2 separate regions of the Homo sapiens genome follow, and region 1 is linked to region 2. Evidence: promoter capture Hi-C in human tissues and cell types (Jung and others, 2019). All regions are on one chromosome and are shown on one strand. The core of a region is centred on a gene start or on the middle of the fragment in contact, and the rest is flanking DNA. Distances in the headings are between cores, read along the strand shown.

Region 1 (4,364 bases), core at 1,232-3,731, 46 kb after region 2:
GGCTGAGCACGTTGTTCAGTTCCTGGGTCCCACAGCCCCCACGCCTGTCATATCACATTTATCTTTTGAATATTCTCTCCAGCGACTAGGAGTTCTGTGACGGTGCGGCCTGGGATCTCCCACCCCTTGCTGTCTCCCCAGCATGGAGCAGCATTCATTGAGTCCATTGATTCCTTCATCAAATATGTGGGGGTACCCACCGGGTGTCAGGTCTGGGGATCTAAGGGAAAAACAGGCCTGTCCCCACCCTCATGGAGCTGGCCACTGAGTGGGAGACAGGGGTCAGTGATAGAAAAGTATCTCACCACGTGGGACCACAGAAGCAAGGTCAAAAGCGGCACAGATGAAACATGCCTCTATGTGGTAGAGGTTGGATGCACCTTTAAGATGGGTGATGGGAGGCGGGACGCGGTGGCTCAAGCCTGTAATCCCAGCACTTTAGGAGGCCCAGGCAGGCGGATCACGAGGTCAGGAGTTCGAGGCCAGCCCAACCAACATGGTGAAACCCCGTCTCTACTAAAAAATACAAAAATTAGCTGGGCGTGGGGGCGCACGCCTATAATCCCTACTCAGGAGGCTGAGGCAGGAGAATCACTTGAACCCAGGAGGCAGAAGTTGCAGTGAGCCAAGATCGCGCCACTGCACTCTAGCCTGGCAATAGAGTGAGACTCCCTCTCAAAAAAAAAAAAAAAAAAATGAGTGATGGGGGCACCCTCTTCCAGGGTGTTACTCACGAGCTGGTAAGATCGTGCTGAGGATGTGGGGAAGAGCTCCAGGCAGTGGGTGGCATTCAGCAGACCTCAAGAATCTTGTGTAGAGACTGAGTCAGATGTGATAAAATGGAAAAAATAAAAAACAACAACAAAAAGAATCTTGTAAAATAAAAGGAGGGTCGAGAGAAAAGCACAAGGAGACCTAGGCTCACTCACTGGGAAATTCACCGATAGCTTAGAGCAAAGCCCTGTGGCAAGGGGCTGGGCTCGAACCTTGGCGCTGCCACTTGCTAGCTGTGGAGCTCTGGGCAAACCCTTCACTTCTCTGCGCTTCATGATAGGGTGACTGGATCAATTATTGTCCACTTAAAGACAGAAGGCGAAAGGGGGAGCTATTACAACCAATTATACCAGGACAACAGGCCAAAGCCAGGACTGTCCTGGACAGACGGGAGATATGGCCCCCAGCTTATGGGGCAGTAGTAGGACTAGGTCACAGAGTTTTTGGGAGGATTAAATGAGTTAATCCTTGGGAAACACTTTGAACAGTGGCAGCACATGCAATGCGCTTAATAATTATTAGCTATTGGCATTTTATTACATACGCGTGCACACACACACACACACACACACACAAGCTCAGAGGAGAGGGCCAGACAGACACACCTGAGTGTCATTCAAGCCCTCTGTGATCCACAGCCGGCCACGATAGGAGCCTGAGGGAGGCAGGGTTAATGTGTCCCCATTGCCTGGCAGCAGAGCGGGCTCTGCAAAAGTCTCTCTCTCTTTTTTTTGAAATGGAGACTCGCTCTTGTTGCCCAGGCTGGAGTGCAGTGACATGATCTTGGCTCACTGTAACCTCCACCTCCTGGGTTCAAGCGATTCTCCGATTCTCCTACCGCAGCCTCCTGAGTAGCTACAATTACAGGCATGCGCCTCCACGCCCAGCTAACTTTTGTATTTTTAGTGGAGACAATGTTTCACCATGTTGGCCAGGCTGGTCTCGAACTCCCCACCTCAGAAGATCCACCCACCTCGGCCTCCCAAAGTGCTGGGATTACAGACGTAACCCACCACACCTGGCCTGCAAAGGTCTCTTGGAAAATGGGTGATTTGATTTGAGCCTGGAAGGGTGGGTGTATTTTCCACAGACAGAAATAGGGAGGGATGTGTGCGGGGGTGGGCGAGGGCTCATGGGGAACTGAGGGCAGGTCCGGGAGTCTAGACCGCATTAGAGTACAGGGGAGGGGTGCAGAGTCTGGGGAAGTGTGTCCTGTGCCCAGATGCTGGGATTGGTTGGCCGGGCCCATGAGGCCTGGTCCTGGGGGAAAGGCCCCTCCGCCCAGCAGGAGACCTGATCATGCAGCCGCCTGCTCTGCCAGCCCAGTGTGGAAGCTGCATCCATCCATCCATCAGGCTGCTGAGGCCGTGGGGAATGTGATGAGGCTGCTGAAATGGGGCCCGGGCCCAGCAGGAGAAAGGGGGCCCCCACCCCAGGCAGGGGTGGGATGTGGCTGCAGCTTCCCAGAAACTGGGTCTGGTTCTGCCGACAGAGACTGGCTGACGGTTTGGACTGGAAAGCCAGACCCAGAGGGCTGGAGTGGGGCCTGCTGGCCGGGCTACCTGGGGCTGCCCAGGGCTGCCTGGGGAGAGGGTGCCAGGAGTGGGGAGGGGGCAACTCTGTGGTGGGGGCAGGGGCCCCTCATCTCAGCCAGGACAGACTTCCTGGAGCCTTCCTCACTACAGACGGACAAACTGAGCCCCCGTGACACAAGGGACATGCCCAGGAGTCCACAGCCAAGTCAATAGTAGGCGCCCAACAGAACCTCTGTCTTCCCTTCCCAGTCCAAGGGTCTTCCTGCCGTTTCCTGAAAAGAACCCCAAGGTCCCCAAATGTCACCGAGCAGCAGGCAGTGGGATGAGCTGACTCTTGTCTCCTATGCCGCTTTGTCACCTCCTAGCTGTGGGAACTTGGTCTGATTACTGTAACCTCGCTGAGCCCCAGGGTCCCCAAAATGGGGATAAATGTATGCCCCTCAGGGTCATTGTGACCCTTGCATAAGACGGTGTGGGTCTTGGGCTGGGCATGATCACTGGCATGGCACACTCACTGGCACCGTGGCAAGTTAAAACCGTGTCGCCAGGCACCAGCCTTAGATTTCCTAATTAATTAGCAACTCCTCTAGGAACAGGCAATGCTAGAGGAACGCCCACCACCTACAATGGTAGGTGTTCAGAAACATTCAACTGCTTCTCCTTACCAGCTTTTGTGGTCCCTCCCGGCCAGCCAGAGGGAGCCCAGGACCATTGCACAGCACTCACCACATTCCCAAAACCCATATCCAGCTCCACAGGGCTCTTGGATCTCAAAAGCCCAGTCCTTGTCCCCCACAGTTCATTTGTTTATTGAACAAATGTTTATTGAGGGCCTACTGGGTACCAGACATAGTTCCGGGGAGGGACGATGCAGGCGCGATGCACAGAATGGGCAAAGGCACAGAGGGCCGGAGCTAAGGACTCAAGCACTTCCCGTACACATTCATTTGCCCCCTGTTCTAGCAGCATCTATGGTGCCCAAGGCCCCATCCCAGGCCCTGGGCTGCAGCTGGAGCTGAGGGGGTGTGAATGGGGAGGCGAGCAGAGAGCTTGCCTGTCCCTCCAGAATTTGCTAATTAATTAGGAAATCTCGGGCTGGTGCCTGGCGACACGATTTTAACTTGCCATGCAGACTGGGAGCAGCAGAGAAAGCAGGCATCTCCCTACCCAATGCCCCAGTCACCACTGCCTTCACCTCCTTCAGGGCTTTGCTGGATGCATCAAAGGCCCACCAAGGTCCCTGCAGCTCAGAACCCAGAAAGGGCTGCAGGCCCACTTCTCAGCAGAGAAGGCTAAAATCAGAGATGAAGGTTCTGCTAGGGGTGGGAATGAGGGCAGGGCTGCTGTCCTACAGCTGCTCCTGACACAACAGCCAGGGGTTAGGGTGGCATAGCAGATGGAGGAATCTTGTCTTGGTCAAATGGGGCCCAGATGTTGGAGGGGAGACTCAAGCCCCACCCACAGAGGTCTGGAGTCAGAGCCAGGCTCTTCTGGGACACTTCTTCCTCCGCCTGGTGGACTCTCACTTGACCTCCACCTCAGCTTGGATGGCTCCTCCTCCAAGCAGCCTGCCTGGACTTTCTAGGCTGGGTCAAGTGCCCCTCCCCCATCCCTGCCCCAACCTCTGGCTCCTGTAACACCCAGCTCTGCCCCTTCTTAGCCTGGGTCCTACTCTATTACCATTGCTGCCCCCACCAGACTGAGTCCCATGAGGGCAGACAGGGCCCTTATCCATCTTTGTGACCTTGTGCCCAGCCTGGCATAGAGCAGGAACTGGCCACTGAGAGAAGGGACAGAGCAGCAAACTATCTAGATACCTGGGGTGTGGGATGTGGTGGCATTTGGAGACCATGGGCAGGTTATGTTGCCTCAGTTTCCCCAGAACCAGTGCTTCTCAGACCTTATCTAGGGAAGTGTCCATGATGGCAGAGAGGGGAGAGGGCGGCTCTGGCCAGTTATGTAACCTCCCTCCCCTCGGTGTTCAAATCTGTAAAATGGGATATTAATAGCATCTACCTTGAAGGACTGTTGGAAGAATGAAATAAGTAAACACAG
Region 2 (4,642 bases), core at 1,542-4,041:
GGTGGAGCCCTGCTTCGTATTCTGCACTCCTAGCCTCTCTACCAACTAGGCAGACGCTAACTGCTGCCGATGCTGGGATGGGGTGATTTTCCCAGGTGTGGCCTGACCTAGGTTTTGGGGTTTGGCTGGGTGGCCCCAGCTGGGTGCAAGCTCTGGGCTCAGTATGGGCATCAGCCTGAGGCCTGCAATCCTTGGCCTTGGCCAAGGGTGGACGCACTCCCTCCACCCTTCCTTCTGTAGCAGTGCCTACCTGGCCTAGGAGGCACTGAGCGCTCAGAGGCTATGATTAGCAATCGATTGCTGGTGCAGGGGCCAGGTGGGGGGCTCAGGAGCCCACAGCAGCCTGCAGCTCCAGGAGAGTAGACAGGTGCAGGCACCAGGGCCGAGGGCTGGCTGTGAGTGCAGAGACTGAGGCCCTAGGCTGTGGAGTCAGCATGCCATGGTTTAAATCTTGGCTTATACTATCCTAGCTGTGTGGCCCTGGACAAGTCACTCCACTGCCCTCTGCCTCAGTTTTCCCACTTGTAAGATAGGGACTGTGTTCATATATAACCCAAACTAGCTTTATCTGCCTAAAACTTTCAGACTAGTATGCACTCGGAGAGCATCAGTGATAAGGAGAGGGCAGGGTGGGTCAGTGATGCAGCCACCCAGAGTCTCTGGGACCCTGGCTGTCCCCTGCCCACATGGCTCCCCATATTCCTTTCACCTCAACCCAACTTTCCTGGATGCATGTTGAGACTGCCAGGGGCCCCGTCCTCTCAGGAGGGGGACAAGGCTGGACTATACAATTAGATCTGGGGGGCGCTGAGGAAGCCCAGGCTGCAGAAGGAAGGGTGGAGAGAGCGTATCTTGGCTGCTGTGGCCCCAAAGAGCCCTGGCAGAGGGGGCGGTGGAGGGAGCCCCAGGTGTGGGGTCAGAGGACCTGGGCCCCAGCCTCTCAGGGTGACCTTAGCAGGCGTCTCTTCCTCCCCGGCCTCTGTCCCATGCTCAGTGGGTTCTCAGCTCAAAGGCCAGTCCTTCTGGGCTGGGACCCCAAGGTGCCTGATATGGGGTGGCCAAGTGAAGGGGAAGGGACACTGAGGAAACACTCAGATCCCCTCCACCTGGAGCTGGCCCCAGCCAGAGACTGCCTAGAACCTTTGGGGTTTCTGGAGCCTGGTGCTCCTAAAGAACCCTCAGCACTCCTCACTCTTCAAACTTCCTTCCCCTCCCGCTAGGCTGCAGGCCTCCCGTACCAGGTGCTGTGCTGGGTTCCTTGCTGCTGGATGCCCAGCATGCACACGGTGCCTGGCACACGGCAGCTATCATGTTAATATCAGCTTAATGCATGGATAAGTAAAGGAACCCCACACAGCCTGACCCTGTACCTTCCCCTTCCCCAGCCGGGATTCCACCCCGATACCTCCCAGAGACATCCTGAGCCACTTACCTGAATGCCCACAGGAACTCCTGAGCAGAAGCCCTTCGAGTCCAGAGGATGGGGGAAGGTCATTGTGCTCCTTGCTCAATACCCCCAGGACAAGGTCCCCTCTATTCTGGGTAAGCTACTAGGGGTGATGGGTGTGGTGGTGGTCAGTGGGTTTGGCCTCAGCCTGCAGAGCCTGAACCAAGGCCAAAGCCACCCCCACTCCCAGTCACACCCCCCTGATCCCACTGTGGGGTGAACAGACCAAGGTGGGAGAAGGGCTCAGCCCAATCGCTTGTCTAAAATGTTGCCCAACAGCCTGTTGGAAAGCTGGTGGTGATGGGTGGGGGTGGAGGTAGGGGGCTCCAAAGACCAAACTGCCCATCCCCCAATCTCTGTGCAAGACTGTGTGTCCCCTCCTCACAGATAGAAGAGGCTGGGGCCTGCCCTGGGCCCCCAGGCAAGGGCAGGTCCCCTCCACCTCCTTGGGTACCACGTGGGGGAGAGTGGAGGGTGACAGGTCAGACACAGAGAGAAAGGCCCAGGGGTAACTGGGAACATCAGCTGTGCTCTGGCCCTTCTGTCCCCTGTCCAAGGATGGGGGTGGGGAGGAGGATTAGGGGGCAGGGGAACCTTCTTTATAACCTGTGCCCCACCATTAACCCTTTCCTGCCAACAGGGTTCAGGGGCTCTGCAGATGGGGGCACCCGGTAAGACGTGGGAAGGGGCTGTGGGGGTGAGCTGGTAAGACCTGTGTCTTGGGGAGGGGTGGGAAAGGGAGGGTCTGCTAGTTCTCCCGGTGCCCGCAGTTCCTCCGGGAAGCCAGGAAGAACCAGAGCTGGTTCCCAGGCACCCGGCAGGGGGTGTGTGGCTGTAGGGATGAGAGCGCGGCACGGCACGGGACCCTGCTTCGTGTCACCTGCGGGGCTGCAAACTGGGGCGGGGATGCGGTGACCTCTGCACGTGCGCTCTCTGCGCTGCCCCCGCCCCCTACCGTCCCTAGCTCTGTCCCCCTCAGGACGCCGCGTCCCCAGGGGTGCGGCGGGGCCGTGAAGGGCGGGTCGCCAGCCCCATCCCCCAGGTCTCCGAGCGGCGAGGGGACTGCGCGGGTCCCCGGCACCCGATCCCCCCGCCCCCGGCCGGGCCCCCTCACCTCGCGACACGCAGGAGCCCATCACGGGGCCGCGGGGCCGGGCCGCTGCGCCCGGGGTGCGTGGGGCCGCGGGGCGTTCATGTCTCCGCGGGCCCGGGGCTGAGCGCTGCGGAGCCAGAGGACGGGCGGGGCGGGGGGCTCGGGCGCCCTCAGCTCGGCCTCAGCTCCAGCCTGGGTCGTCCCTGCTGCCGCCGCGCCCGGCTCGCCTCGCGCCGCCGCCTCCCGCGCAGTGCCCGCCGCTGCCAGGGGAGGGCGACACCGCGGGGCGCGGCGGGCGGGGCCCGGGGGAGCGCAGCCGGGAGGCTCGGGCACACCTGTGGCCGCAGCGCGCGGGAGGGCCATCTCTGTCCCTTCGGGGCTCCCCCACCTCCTGGGGTTGCCCGGGCTGAAGGTCAGGGAAGGGGACAGAGGGGGCGGGGAGACTCCTGGCATTTGGGGCACAAAGTAAACAACATGAATTTAACCACACCAACGACGACTGGGCACGAAGGCTTGGGAGCGAGGAGGGGTGCGCGCAAGAACAACAGTTCCATTGGGCCTATTTTTAGAGGATGAAAGTGAGGCTCGCAGAAGTTAGAGGCCTTGCCTGAGAGCCCTAAGCTGTGAGTTCAGCGACTTTTGACTGTCAGCGCCTCATTCAGAGCTATTGAAATTAACATATGCAAAATAATATATGCCCAGAGGTGGGGTAGAGAGAGTGCGGGTAGATAGTGCGCTGGTGGCCTGGCGGCGGGATGAAGGGTCTCCAGCGATGGTTGAAGAGGGGGGCAAGGCTGCCTCTCAGGGCTTGTCTAGGGCAGAGTAAACTGAGGCACAGGTTTTTTTCCCCAGCCCTGGACGGCCTCTGTAGTCATTCACACTTACTCGCACGTACCTACACACACACTCTCCCATGTGTACATACCCCTCATTCACACACTGATGGTCATACACACACATATATATGCACACTTGCATTTACATACACGCACACACACTCACATACCTACACATGAATACACAGTCTCCCATGTGTACATACCCACTCACACCCACACAATGACAGTTATACACTCACATTGAAGCACGCTTGCATTTACACACACACACACACACACACATCCCAGCTCCTGAGGTGTGAAGATCCTTTAGCAAAATTTCCCATGCACACAGCACTCAATGTCAGTGTCTGAGACCCTCACTCACACATAGCATCTCGCTCTCTCCTTCATGCCCACCTGTGCATCAGGCAGGGCAGGCACTCTTGTGTCTGTTTTCCAGTTGAGGCAGCCAGGTTCACTGGTGGCAGCAGAGAAATGTTTTGAAGAATGAATAAGGAGGGGCCAGGCGCGGTGGCCCACGCCTGTAATCCCAGCACTTTGGGAGGCCAAGGCAGGCAGATCACTTGAGGTCAGGAGTTCGAGACCAGCCTGGCCAATATGGTGAAACTCCGTCTCTACCAAAAATATAAAAAATTAGCTGGGTGTGGGCTTGGCACAGTAGTTCATGCCTGTAATCACACCACTTTGGGAGGCCGAGGTGGGCGGATCACCTGAGGTCAGGAGTTTGAGACCAGCCTAGCCAACATGGTGAAACCCCGTCTCTACTAAAAATACAAAAATTAGCCAGGCATGGTGGTGGTGGGCGCCTGTAATCCCAGCTACTCAGGAGGCTGAGGCAGGAGAGTTGCTTGAACCCAGGGTACAGTGAGCCAAGACCATGCCACTGCACTCCAGCCTGGGCTACAAGAGAGAAACTCCATCTCAAAATAAATAAATAAATAAAAAGCTAGGTGTGGTGGCACAAGCCTGTAATCCCAGCTACTCGGGAGGCTGAGGCAGGAGAATTGCTTGAACCCGGGAAAGTGGAGGTTGCAGTGAGCCGAAATCGTGCCACTACACTCCAGCCTGGTCGGCAGAGTGAGACTCTGTTTCAAAAAAAAAAAAAAAAAAAAAAAAGAATGAATAAGGTTTGAGGCAGCAGCGTGGGATAGGGCTGGAGGCCTCTCAAGGGGCAGGATCTGGGCCAGGGCGCACTGCCAGAGCAGCTGAGCCAGGGAGTGGGTGCTGACTTCTTTCTCTTTCTCTAAGCTAGGTGCTCTC

The links. Contacts are between HindIII fragments. The study calls those that stand out against the background at their distance.
Region 1: a fragment that was not itself captured here is called in contact with the fragment with the promoter of FAM131C in region 2 in 1 of the 25 tissues and cell types used here (pancreas).

The regions. Positions count from the first base shown.
Region 1 is chr1:16,116,787-16,121,150 of GRCh38, forward strand. No RefSeq gene overlaps it. Among named protein-coding and RNA genes, the nearest start is that of EPHA2-AS1, 36 kb to the right of the region's middle. RefSeq lists enhancers at 1-38, 1,374-2,047, 3,319-3,875. The HindIII fragment of the contact is 6,854 bases long and covers 1-4,364 here.
Region 2 is chr1:16,070,860-16,075,501 of GRCh38, forward strand. It overlaps FAM131C (family with sequence similarity 131 member C), which reads right to left and starts at 2,792. Exons shown (of 7, transcript NM_182623.3): 1 at 2,562-2,792. The coding sequence starts at 2,583. RefSeq lists a silencer at 2,687-2,846 and an enhancer at 3,055-3,554. The HindIII fragment of the contact is 22,024 bases long and covers 1-4,642 here.